Linked DNA regions of Homo sapiens: all the other regions are linked to region 1. Evidence: promoter capture Hi-C in human tissues and cell types (Jung and others, 2019). All regions are on one chromosome and are shown on one strand. The core of a region is centred on a gene start or on the middle of the fragment in contact, and the rest is flanking DNA. Distances in the headings are between cores, read along the strand shown. Region 1 holds the start of ITGA11 (integrin subunit alpha 11). Region 2 holds the start of LOC124903513 (a long non-coding RNA gene). Region 3 overlaps ITGA11 (integrin subunit alpha 11).

Region 1 (4,048 bases), core at 1,072-3,571:
AGTGATGAAATAATAAATGGTTTTAAATAGATTAATAAATAACAGATTATGATTAAATAAATACATGGTTATGTCTTGTCTCCTCAGCTCCATCACCAGCTGCCCTAGTGTGGGGTTCTCCTTCCGTGTGTCCTACAGAGCACAGGGGCACAGTAGGCACTCTGTAGGATCTGTTGAAAGAACAAATGAGGGCACACCTCTCCCCTCACCCTCCCACATTACACAAAAGCACACAGAGTGATCCTCAGGACCCCCATTCCCCAGGCACCTGTGAGGACGGTGAAGGTGAATGAATGGTAGAATTGTTACCAGCGAGACCAGCAGCAGCGCAGCTAGGACAGCCACTACAGTGCGCCCCTTCAGCAAGCAGCATGCAGACTCTGAGCACAAGCTGCAGACCACCCACACGTCAGAGGTGCCTGGGGCACCCACCAGCATGCCCTGATCCTTGGGGAATTTGCATTCTTTGCACGTGCTCCAGGTCGTTCTGATGCACCTGGAGATTTGTGCAAGGCAGGAATGTGGGCTGCAGCCCATTCCCTAGCTGTAGGGGTGTTCTACATTCAACTCAGCTGGCTTAAACTCAACTCAGTGAAGAGGACTCACTGTCGTATAACTGATAAGTCCCAAGGGGAGTGGGGTTAAGGGGTGGCTTCATTCAGGAGTTCAACAAGATCCTCCATTCTGTCATCCAGTGTCCACCTCATCTCAAGGCCAGATCCTCCTTCCCTACCCTGACCCTGTCAACTTCTGAGCCTACAAAGTTCCTTGTCCCAGGCTGGGAGAGGAGGCAGGAGTGGGAGAGGTGAGGAGAGAGAGTTAGTTCATTTGTTTGTTTGTTCTAGGGGCTCTTTTAGAAAGGCAAGAAAGCTTGCTTCCCAAAAAAACTTTTTCTTTTGTCATATTGCCCTTTCTGAAACGATGGGCTGGGAAGGGCAACATACTGATTCATTTCAGCCTGAACCGCATGCCTCCTTACACACACACACACACACACACACACACCAGGGACGGAATCACCTTCCCCGAGTCTGTGGCTGAATGGGTGAGGTGAAGATGAAGTAAAACCCAGATAGCCAACCGAAAGATAGTGAGGTTGGGAGACGAGCACAAGCCCACTTCACTTATGTGAACCTGGGTCTTCTCAAACTCCAGCTCATCTTCAGGGGCCCTGACTGAACATCACCTCCTCTGGGAAGCCCTTCCAATACCTCCCAGATAGAAAACTCTATCCTTTGTGCACCCACACACCACCTGTACTCACCCATCCATCCACCCGCCCACCTACTTTGTTCCTGGGTGTTAGGGGCTGAGTACTCCATTGTGAACCAGAGATTTCTACCCTGATGGTGTTTTCAGTCTGCACAGGAGAGAAAAGTTAAATGATCACACCAATTGATGCCTTGCTTCTCTACTAAGCACAATGAAGAGAAATGAGGGAGAGCGGGCTGGGGAATATCAGCATGTGTCTGGGACTCAACCTGGTGGGGACGGGAAGAGGGGGTGAAGGAAGCCTTTCCTGAGAAAGTGGGGGAAGGGCGCTCTGCTGTGGCTTTCCCTGCATCTTGGCCTTCCTACCCTCTGCCTCGGCTTCCTCCATTGCTGGAAAAGCCTCCACAAGCGCGGTGGAGGTCCGGGGCCTGGATTTAAAGCTCTTGAGATAAATGTGCATTGAATTTAACTACCAGTGATTAGAAGAGGGAAAGAAGGTGGCAGGGTTACAAAGAAGAGCTTCACGTTAGGTTAAGAGGGGGTGCACGGTGTCCCTGGGTGCTTTGGAATGCCTCAGGTGTGGAGGCTCAGGGAGTGGCAGTGGAGGCGAATCTGCATGTATTCCAGGGTCAGAAGAAACACTAGCCTCTACAATTCAAGCCGCAGGGTGCAGGGAGACACGGGGATGTCTTAGAATGGACCTTTGAGGGACATCCACTCACTTGGCCAAGGGAGACCTGCGTTCCAGCAGGTGTTCCTGAGCCAGCTTGGGTACCCTCTGAGTTTTGTGAATCTCTTTTCACTGGGAAATGGGAATAAAAACCACTTTTCCTGAACAGAATCTGACTGAGGCGGTGCGGTGCTACACTGGTGAGGGGGTTCCCAGGAGCGGTTCTCTGGAGTTTTCTCCAGAGGCTGACGTGGGGTTGGCGGAGAAGGAGCGCTGCACAGGCGCGTCGAGGCAGCGCGCCGCCTGCCCAGGTGGCAGAGCGGCCGAGACTGGCCCAGAGCCCGAGCCGGAGTGGTGTCCGGCGCCCCTCCCCTCCGCTCGAGCCCTCCCACTTCCTCTGAATGAGCCGCAGCTGTCAGGGAGCCCGGCGCCCCGCGCAGTGCAGGCTGCAGGCGCCGCGCCGAGGAGGCTGCCGCTCTGGCTTGCCGCCCCCCGCCGCCGCTGCACACCGGACCCAGCCGCCGTGCCGCGGGCCATGGACCTGCCCAGGGGCCTGGTGGTGGCCTGGGCGCTCAGCCTGTGGCCAGGTAGGTGCCCACCCTCTGCCTCCCCTTGCCTCTCGGAGTCCCTCCCTGGGCCCTCGGGGCTTGGATCCAGCGGCCAGGATCGGGACGCGACCCTCCTCCCAGGGTCAGACCTCAGCTGCTCTTGGGGACGTGGGTCCCCCAGGGACTGGCCCCAGTCTAGCGGTTCAGTCAAGTTTCGCTAAAGAGGGAGGTGCGAAGGCTATTGAAAGCCGGGACTCTTTGGTGTGTTTGGGAAGAGTTGAAGAGGCTTGAGTTGAAAAGCTCCCAGATCTGGTGGCCCTCCTGGGCGCCTTAGGTGCCTCCAAGGCCCATGCCGGGGTTCCCGCACGGCTGCCAGGGGCACTCGGGTGTCCCGGGAGCGCCGAGGGCGCACGGCCCCGGCTGGGGAAGGGAATCAGCGCCAAGAGAGTGTGCCCTGGCTGCCCTCCTGCCTGGCTCCGGGGAAGCATCTCAAAGTTTGGAGAGCCGGGCGCGGCGGCCCCGGAGGGCTGAAGGGTGGGGGTGAGGGCTGCGCAGAGTGCCTCCGGCCAAAGACAGAGCAAAGCCCCGGGGCGATGGCCGGTAGGCGGGGGCTAGCTCTCGTCTGCCCGGCCAGCAGCGGCGGGACACAGTCGCGCAGCGCAGGACCCCCGAAACGTTACCTGACACCCGGGGTAGGGACCCGGCATTGCCTCCCAACCCGCGCTCGGAATTATGCAATTATTCAATAATCTGGGGAAAGCCGCCGTCGCCTAGACGCGCGCCGCCGCCTAATGCACTCCAGGTGTCGGGGCGCGGCAGGAACCTCCGGCCCGAGGGGCGCGCGGCTGGGAGCGGGAAGCCAGCCCTGAGCTCTCCGCCCTAGGGTACCCTGGCCCCGGCCGTCCCACACCGGGCTCCCCGGCTCCACCCTCCACGCGGGGCGGCTGCCAGTGATGCTGTTCTGCGGAAGACGGCCAAGTGCTCCGGCAAGGGCCAGCGCCTCGGTTACTGGCCGGGTGTGGGCGCTCAACCTTGCCTCCCCTTCTGCGTGGGCTCCAGGCCCGAGCTGGGGCCAGTAGTGGGGGTCAGATGCGGTGGTAGTGGGAGAGGTGCCCTCAGGGAGCTCAGGTGGAGACCCCTATCCCGCAGCCGCTTGCCCCAGTCCCCGGGTACCACGCGAAGCAAGTCCACCCTCCTGTCGGCCTACAGAGGAGCTTCTCAGAGGGCCCATGGTTGAAAGGGCCTCTGGCTAGTGGAATCCTAGAGTCACAGTTTAAAACAATCATTGATACATTGAGTTGTGGGGGCTTGGAAGGGAGAGCAGGGGAAGAACTGCCACCAGGCCAATATGCAACTAGAAGCCAGCTGCGGGAGGAGGCCAAGCCCATTTAGGTGTGTTTAGACAGGAGGGGAGAATCTTCTCCAGGAACTGTCCTCATATCACTAGGAGATCCAGCCACAAGAAAAGAGACGCACTCCTGTGTGACTCCAGATAGGTGGCTGCATCAGAACCTTGGGAAGGAGTGGCTGCCTTAGGGGCTAGGGACAGCCTGGACCTCAGGAAGCTAAGAGCAATGGCTTTGGAATCAGACCTGGCTTCCACTTCTGGCTCTGCACC
Region 2 (4,564 bases), core at 1,927-4,426, 36 kb before region 1:
AGACGGGGGGCTCTGAAACTGAAACCTCATTAGCTTTGCTGCCAATCACCTCTGGAACCAGGCTTGTGAGTAGCCTGGTCCTGCTCCTCTGAGGTCACTAATAACAAGACCCTAAGTGATGGCATTGGTGGTGGTTGCTGTGTCTCTCTGGGGCACCCGAAGTAGGGCAAACGAACTACAGGTCATGTCACTGAGAGCATGAGGGAAGGCAGGTTCAGTGATCCCAGCCTTGCTTTTTTGAGTCATTTACCCAAATATTGGTGAGCATCTACTACATGCGAGTTTCTGTGCTGGGAACTGAGGTACAATGGACATGATGGGGCTAATCCCTTCCCTGTGGGAGCTTCCTTAAGAGAAGAAGGCATTAGTTTAAGTCTGGGCACACTTGCCTGTCAGAGTTAAGTGTCCCCCGACCTTAGGCCTCCTCTGGCTTCTGCTTTTACTCTATCAAACCCTCAGTGTTCTGTTCCATATGCACACTGGACATGTTGGTTCATTTACTCCCGGATTCCTGGGGCCCAGCACACAGCTGACATCAGCGCATTTGTTGAATGGAGCTGGCTGACCAGAAAAACCCAGGACAGGGAGACTTGGAGGCCATATGATAATGAAGGAAGTTGAACTGGGACTTTAGCACTCACCTTAGGAACCTCCCCAGCCTGTTCTGACTTCTGAAGCCAGCCACACGCAAAGTGGCTCTCTCTCGCTTCCGTCTTCACAGTGTGAGTAGCAGGGAGATCCTGATCTGCTGGCTCTTTCCTGGGGGAGAGGTGGTGGGCGAAAGAAAGAGCATGGCCTGGTGGTTGCGAGCAGACAGTGCTGGATTCAGATCTCTGCTGTACTACTCACTGTCCTGAGGCCTCCCTGAGTCCCACACAGCTACAGGCTCGTTCTCTGCAAATGATGACAGATGCCAGGCGCAGTAGCGTCTCCTGGAGTATCACCTGGGAGGCCGCACAACTAGAAAGTCCACAGGGGCTCAGTACAAGGTCCCAGCCCTACTGGGCACGCAAAGCCTCTCTGCTCTCACGCCTGACCTTGCACTAAGGGTAAGCTCCAGGAGGGCTGGGCTCATCCTTACCCCCACCGTATCCTTAGCATCCAGAACAGGGTCTGGTACAGAGCCAGTACAAGATAAATATTTATCCAAAGATGAAAAGATTACACTGCAGAAATAGAATAAATACAAAATTTTATTGTCAAAAATGACACGTCACTAGACTTGTTGCTTTGGTTAAAACGACTTCCTGGCTATGAAAAATCTGGCCTCAAAAATGTGTTTTCCACTTTTCAGGAGGACTAAATGCCAATTCAGTGCTACTTGAAGAGCTCTTTCCTTTGTTGATTCTATTATTACTAATTCACTGTGAAAGGTTCAATTGCAGACTAGGAGAAGTAGAGAGCTGGACTGGAATGAGATTGTCATAGCTCTGCTCACATATCAGAAAGCTGCAAATATTCTTTCCTCCTTTCATTTCTATACTTCAGATGTCCCAAACCAGCCTGCCAGCAGTGTTTGTCCCCTGCCTTCCCTCCAACCCACCCTTAGGAATCTCAGCACAACCAAGGAAAGAGGGTGACCTTGTGCACTTGAGTGTGTATGTGACTATGGGTGTGAATATACCTGAGTGTGTGTGTCCTCCTGTGTGAGTATGTGTGTGACACTTCTTTCCCCGTAAGGTGTTCAGAACCCAGGCTTCACTTGGTACCTCCTGTGAGCTCTGGAGCCAGGTTCTCCACTCTGTTATACCACAGTTGCCCAGAGAAGGACCCACGCACCATGTTCAGTAGACCTGGAATGCCATAAGGAATACCCAGACCTATAAATTATCTGCCTGGAGGTTCCCCAGCGCTGTCTAGGTTACCTGGACCCACACAGAAATCCTGTCTCCCTGGAAATCTAGCTTTTTAGCTCACTTTCCTAAATGAGGACAGGTGCCCCGTCCTCACCTTGGCATTCACTTCTCTCTCTTTATTCCCATACCCAAGCTGCAGCTACTACCAGCCTGTGTAGGCCACCAGTCTACTGCAGGGGTGGCCTCCTCTAGTCTCACATAAGATGCAGCTTCTCCTCAGCATAGTCCCTAATCACCTTTAGAGTCTTCCACTCCCCCCATCCCTCCTCCACCCTAGAATTTCTCCTTTATGACCTCCTCATGGGTCATCCCTCTCTGTTATTCCTTACCCCTGCATCTCATTGTATGTTTTTTTTGTTTTGTTTCATTTTTTTGAGATGGTGTCTCACTCTGTCTCCCAGGCTGGAGTGCAGTGGCACAATCTCAGCTCACTGCAACCTCTGCCTCCCGGGTTCAAGCAATTCTCCTGCCTCAGCCTCCTGAGTAGCTGGGATTACAGGCGCACGCCACCACCCCCGGCTAATTTTTGTATTTTTATTAGAGACGGGGTTTCACCATGTTGGTCAGGGTGGTTTCGAACTCCTAACCTCGTGATCTGTCTGCCTTGGCCTCCCAAAGTGCTGGGATTACAGGTGTGAGCCACCATGCCTGGCGGCATCTTTCTTTTTTTTTAGATGGAATCTTGCTCTTGTCGCCCAGGCTGGAGTACCATGGCTCAATCTTGGCTCACTGCAACCTCTGCCTCCCGGTTTCAAGCGATTCTCCTGCCTCAGCCTCCCGCGTAGCTGGGATTATAGCCATGCCTGGCTAATTTTTTTTTCGATTTCTACTAGAGATGGGGTTTCCCCCATGTTTGCCAGGCTGGTCTCGAGCTCCTGACGTCAGGTGATCCACCAGCCTCAGCCTCCCAAAGTGCTGGGGTTACAGGTGTGAGCCACTGCGCCCGGCCTCACTGCATCTTATTGCACCAAAATAATGAACATCACTCGTCTGCTGCTGTCTCTTTTCTTCCTCTTTGCCCTTGTGAGATTATTCCTTTTCTACTAGCAAGGAAGCTCCATGAGGGCAGGATGTATGTCTGTTTTGCTCACTGAAGTATCCCAAGTTCCTGGCATAAAGTAGGTGCTCAGTAAATATTATTGAACACCAAAAAATGCATAGTATGGTTGAGCAACTGGCCAGCGGGTTTGGAATTAGCTCAATTTATCAGCTTCTGGAGCATTTTTGGAAATCCCAGTAGCTCCAGAAATAACGTTACTAAAGCCCCAGGAAAGGAACATTCTGTTACTTGTTAAACAACTTCTCACCAAAGCCAAAAAAACAAAACAAACAAACAAAAAAAACCACCTCTCACGACCAACTCCATCAATAATTTCATCCTTCTTTAGCCAAATCCACTTGGGGAGAAAGAGCAATAGAATGTGCAAGGAGCAAGGAGTCCCCATTTTACCAGGTACATCTGTGGTTTCCTTAGAGTTCTGGTTTGCAGTTTTGACTGGGCATCATAATTCCTGGAGAGTTTGTTTACTCCTGTGCTCTGTACCCAGAGGCTTGGCTTTCCTAGATCTGGGATGAAGCCCAGAATCTGCATTTTAATAATCTCTCTATCCAATTTAGAAGCGACTGGCAATCTCCCATCTCAATTTGAAATACTATATCTTAGAGTTTATAAGAGCAAATGAAAATTCAGCAAAGATACGACCTGTCATGAAGGAGGCTAAGGGGAGTTGGTTGATAAACCAAGCATCAGGTTTTCTCAGGAGCCACAGCTGAAAAAAGGACATTATGAAAGCTGAAAGGACAGGCAGACACACAGCCAAGAATGAATCCCAGAATAAACTGAAGAAAGTTTTCTAAAGGAAATGGATGTGAGTTTTTAAGGATTTGTTTTGTGAAGGAGAATATGGACTTCATGGGCATTTACGCATGGGGTATGAGTTACAGGGAAACAGATTTCAGCTCCGCATAAGAAAGAATTTTATCACAGACTCACCTTGCAATATATTGGGTTAAAGGATTTACTTGAAGGTTGGAGAATATTATATTTACCATCATTTCTTCTTTGAGATAGCATTCACAGGGCTAGAAAGGGGAACAATGACCAGCAGTTGGGCTTAAGAATGGAATAAATGCCCAAAAAGAAATCTTCCATAACAAAATGTGATTACCATTGTTAAATAACTGCTGGAAGGGAGATCTGGAAAATTGTGGCATTTTTCCTTAGTGGTGAATGCAAGTTTGGGCTGGAGCTGAACTGCCAGACAGAGTAGTAAAGAGCTGTATGGGGGAAGGGTGGGGGAAGTGTATCACTGAGGTATCAAGGTAGGAGAAACTTGGGGAGAGCAAACAGGATAAGAAAGATGTCTGGGGACCTCTACTGTTATGTTGTATATGACATTACTACCTGGCTTTCATCTCACCTCAAAATCTTCATTAAGCTTTAGGGTTTTCACAAATGTTTTGGGCTTTTGAGGGACACGGTAGTCTTGATTGCTGATTAAGTTGGACCCGAGAAAAAAACCAAAGACTGCTCCTAGAAGAAGAGCCAAATATTAGTTTTAGCAATGCTAATAGCCACTAGCAATTGAGCTCTTATTGCATGCCACACATGGTGCTAAGTACATTAAATGCAGTATTACATTTAGTTTTCACTATCATCCTCTAAGGTAGAAATCATCATCCCCCTTTTTCAAGAATGAAAGCTGAAG
Region 3 (4,284 bases), core at 668-3,167, 39 kb after region 1:
TGGTAATTTGTGTTGTCCCTCTTATTTTTTATCAGTCTTGCTATGGGCATATTAATTTTATTAATGTGTTCTAGGATCAACTATGGGCTTTACTGATTTTCTCTATTGAATCCCTGATTTCTCATTCATTGGTTTCTATTCTCATTTTAATTATTTCTTCCATTTTTTTATTTAATTTATCTTTTTCTAGCTTCTTACTTAAATTGTTGATTTTCTGACCCTTTTTCTTTTCTAAAATATACATATAAGGCTATATATTTCCTCTAACATTGCTTTAGCTGCATCCTACAAATTTTGATGTTTTCATTATCATTCAGGTTAAAATAATTTCTAATTCTCATCATGATTTCTTCCTTGGACCGTGGGTTATTTAGAAATGTGTTTTTTAATTTCCAAATATTTGGAGATTTTCTAGTTGTCTTTCTATTATATTTCTAATTCAATTCCATGGTGGTCAAGAGAGCTGCTGTATAATTTAAAATCTTAGTTGTTTGTTGGCAATATTTTAAATTACTGATTCAATCTCACTGCTTGTTATTGGTCTGTTCAAAATTACTGTTTCTTACTGATTCAAGCTAGGATGGTTGTATGCTTCCAAGAATTTATGTGTTTCCTCTAGATTTTCTAGTTTGTTTGCATAGATGTTCATAGTAGTCTTGAATGGTCTCTTATACCACTGTGGTGTCAGTCGTAATATCTCCATTTTCATTTCTAACACAGCTTTACAATCTATTTGCAATTAGTATTTTACCACTTTCTAAGTAACACAATAACTTTACGACAGTTTGATTCCAGTCCCCTGTCCTGTCCTTTGTGTTATTTTTGTCATATATTTTACCTTTGCACATGTTATAAATTCCACAAGACATTATTGTTATTGTTGCTTTAAGTTGTTAATATTTATGTCTACTTATCCACATAGCTACCCTTTCTGGTGTTCTTCGTCTCTTTTATATAATTCTGTGCTCTCATTTGAGATAATTTTCTTTCAGCCAAAGAACTCTACTTAGTATTTCTTGTGGTATAAGTCTGCTAACAAGAGTTCTTTCAGCCTTGGGAGTTGGGTTTTCTGTTTGTTTTTGTTCGTTTGTCTGAAAAGATCTTAATCTCACCTTAATTTTTGAAGTATTTCTTATCTAGTTTTTCTTTTAGCACTTTAAAATGTCATTCCATTGTCTATTGGCTTTACAGTTTCTGTTGAGATGTCAACCATCAGTTTTATCATTCTTTTGAATGTAATATGTCATTTTCTTGTGGTTGCTTTCTTATTTGCCTTTAATGTCAGCAGTTTGACTATGATGTATCTAAATGTAGTTTTGTTGTATTTGTTCTGCATAGGGTTTCCAAAGCTTCTTGAATCTGCATTGATACTTTTAATTAGATTTGGAAAATTCTCTACCTTCATTTTTAAAAATATAGCTTTTGTCCCATTTCTTCTCTCCTTTTCTTTCTAAACTTGAATTGTGTGTATGTTAGGCCTTCTCGCCATATTTCTCATATTTCTGTTCAGTTTTTTATTCCATTTTTCTCTTGCTGTGCTACAATTTAGATATCCTCTATTCATCTGTCTTCAGGGTCACTAATCCAGCTTTCTGCTGTATCCATTGTGCAGCTAAACCCATTCGATATACTCTTTATTACAGATATTTTATTTTGCTCCTGAATGTCCACTGGATTCTTTTTTTATAGATTCTAATTCTGTCACAATAATCTGTCTTGATCCCAATTGTCCATCTTTTGTTCTATTTTCTTTAACACATTAATTATAATTATTTTGAAGTCCTGGCTGGTTAACTCCAATATCTGGATCATCTCTGGTCTGCTTCTGGTGACTATTTTATCTCATGGTTATCCATTTTTTCCTGATTATTTACTCATTTTGTAAATATTGTGAATATTGTGGATGTTACAGTTTTGCCCTTATTCCTAGGATGTGGTCTTTACTCTTAGAGCATAGATTTTCTGGGGTCTCAAATGAAATCCCAGAGTATTCATTAAGGTCTCTCCTTTCTGACTGGGTATGAACCCCAACACCTTCCTCCCAGAATAGGAGGCAACCTCTAAAATCTCTGCTCCCATTGGCTGTTTTCTGATAGATTTTCCAGTGTATCATACTATGCATACACAGCTTAGGAGTCAGCCAAGAACCTGAGGGAAACTTTCAACAGAGCTTTTGAGACTCTTTTCCTGTTGTTCTCTCCTTTCTGGTATGCTGCCCTTCCCAAATCCTAGTCATCTTTGCAGCCCCAACTCCAATCCCTATTTCCTCCATCCAGCAAGACTTCTACTCTCTGCATCCATTTCCCTGTGCTTCAGCAAAGAAAATGCCCTCAGAGGAAAAGCTGGGGTGAACAGGGTTTCAGCTTCTGTATTTCCCTTCTTACAAGTATTGAGCTCTGCCTTGATTGCTGTCCAGTGCCTGAAAATAGTTGTTTTAGATATTTTGTGCTGTTTACATAGTTGTTTATGGCTAGAATTGAAAGCCCTCTTTCATATTCTTTTTATCAACTTAGATATCACTTCCTCTGAGAAACTTTCTCTGACTATCCCTTCCCATCACTACATAAGCTGCCCCCATAGAATTCTGTGTTTCTCTTTTCATAGCACTTATCAAATTGAATAGTAATTGCCTGTATCATTATCTTACTTCCTGAAATCAGCGGTATAATTCCTGGTGTTTAGTAGGTGCTCAAAGAACTTACTTTGACAGACTGAATTAAGGATTTGAGCCTCTTTCAACCAGCCCAGACATAAGATGCATGACATCCATATTGTTTACATGGTATGAAAGGTTAAAAATTAAGTTGAACTGACTTTTCCAAGACAGAATTTATTTTGACCAATATTTGTTTATTAGGCATCTGTTAATGAATTTTACTAGACTCGGCAAAATATTGGTATGAGTAAAACGTGGTTTCACTCTCAAATAAGTCACAGACCAGTTAGGGAGGCAACATTAATACCCTTGAAATAATTTAAAACCAATGCAAGTCAAATATGACCTGGTATTAATTACATGCATCTTTGAGGCTACTTTCTCCATGAAGGCTTTCTGAATCCTTTTCCTAGCCTAAAATGACCTTACCCTCCCCAAGCCTTTTCTGTGATAACACATATCACTTCCCACTTTTTGTTGGAGTCACTGAGGCCCATGGCCCATCTCCCCTGTTGGACACCAGCTTCATCTCCCTGCAGCCCAAGAGCAGCCAACACAGCATCATCTTCACAGCAGAAACCCAGCCAGACTCTGAAAGGAGAAATCACTGTGCCTGGGGTCTCTGGAAATGCTCCATGGAAGAGGGCAGTTGAACATGATCTTGGAGGTTGGGCATAGAAGAGCAGAAAGATATGACAGAACCAACTCCTGGTAGCTTTTGCTTATCTGAGTGCAGCCTGGAGCATTGTGGGAGAGAAATGGTGCCCCAGGTGGGCAGGGTCCCACCCATTGCAGCCACTGGACCTGAGCATGTTACTGCCACAGCCGAGCTGAGAGAAACAGAGAGGGTGGCCTTGGGGACCCCGAGAGCTGAGCCCCCTCCAGAATGGACAGGAGCACACTGGGCCTTTCTAGAATCTCTGTTCCCACTTGTGTGGATCCCACCACAAATCCTACTTGGCTTTCCCCTCCCTGCTTCCTCTTCTGGCCCCATCTTCTCTGTCGTATGGGCAGCATTCCAAGAATTTGATTCAGACCTAGGACCCTATGGGTGTTGATCCTAGAAAGGAGAGGTTGATGCCAGTGTCATTTAGGAGACATTGGCTGACTATTAAGCATGACCCCAGTGGGATGTATTGATTCAGCTCTGTGCCAGGGTGAACCTCAAAGGAAGGACAGGAGCAAAGGTTTGAAGTGCGAAGCCTCTGCCACGTGGAAGAAGAACCTTGGGAGAACCTCTGCCAACCTTCCCGAACCTCTATTTGCCCATGTGTAAAATAGGAATGAGCATACCTGTCCCAGGGAGCTAGGCAGGATCAAAGAATACCCAAAACACGATTATATTTTGTAATCAGTAAAACAGGAAACGAGGATTGAGTCACTGCAGGCCACTGCTGACTTGATTGAGAGGCTCCCTCTGACCCAGGCTCTTCCTGCCTCTGTGGTATGGACCTGGCTTCCGACACCTCAGGCAGAGCTTGCGTGCCTTGGTCTGCATCTCCTGGGGCTGTGGGGGAGGCCAGGAAGCTGCATGTTTGAAAGAGTTTCCCAGGGGACTCTAGCAGGGAGACTGTAACCCCCCAAGGATCCGCTGTTTCCACTGAGCATGTAAGACAGATTCCAGTGAG

Evidence for each region. Contacts are between HindIII fragments. The study calls those that stand out against the background at their distance.
Region 2: a fragment that was not itself captured here is called in contact with the fragment with the promoter of ITGA11 in region 1 in 3 of the 25 tissues and cell types used here (mesenchymal stem cells, spleen and thymus).
Region 3: a contact is called between a fragment that was not itself captured here and the fragment with the promoter of ITGA11 in region 1, in 1 of the 25 tissues and cell types used here (mesenchymal stem cells).

What each region holds. Positions count from the first base shown.
Region 1 is chr15:68,430,436-68,434,483 of GRCh38, reverse strand. It overlaps ITGA11 (integrin subunit alpha 11), which reads left to right and starts at 2,321. Exons shown (of 30, transcript NM_001004439.2): 1 at 2,321-2,469. The coding sequence starts at 2,418. RefSeq lists a silencer at 320-614 and an enhancer at 3,161-3,920. The HindIII fragment of the contact is 3,029 bases long and covers 1-2,868 here.
Region 2 is chr15:68,466,607-68,471,170 of GRCh38, reverse strand. LOC124903513 (a long non-coding RNA gene) reads right to left here and starts at 700. Exons shown (of 2, transcript XR_007064689.1): 1 at 642-700. The HindIII fragment of the contact is 5,881 bases long and covers 236-4,564 here.
Region 3 is chr15:68,390,443-68,394,726 of GRCh38, reverse strand. All of the region lies in intron 2 of ITGA11 (integrin subunit alpha 11), which reads left to right. Among named protein-coding and RNA genes, the nearest start is that of ITGA11, 40 kb to the left of the region's middle. The HindIII fragment of the contact is 5,663 bases long and covers 1-4,284 here.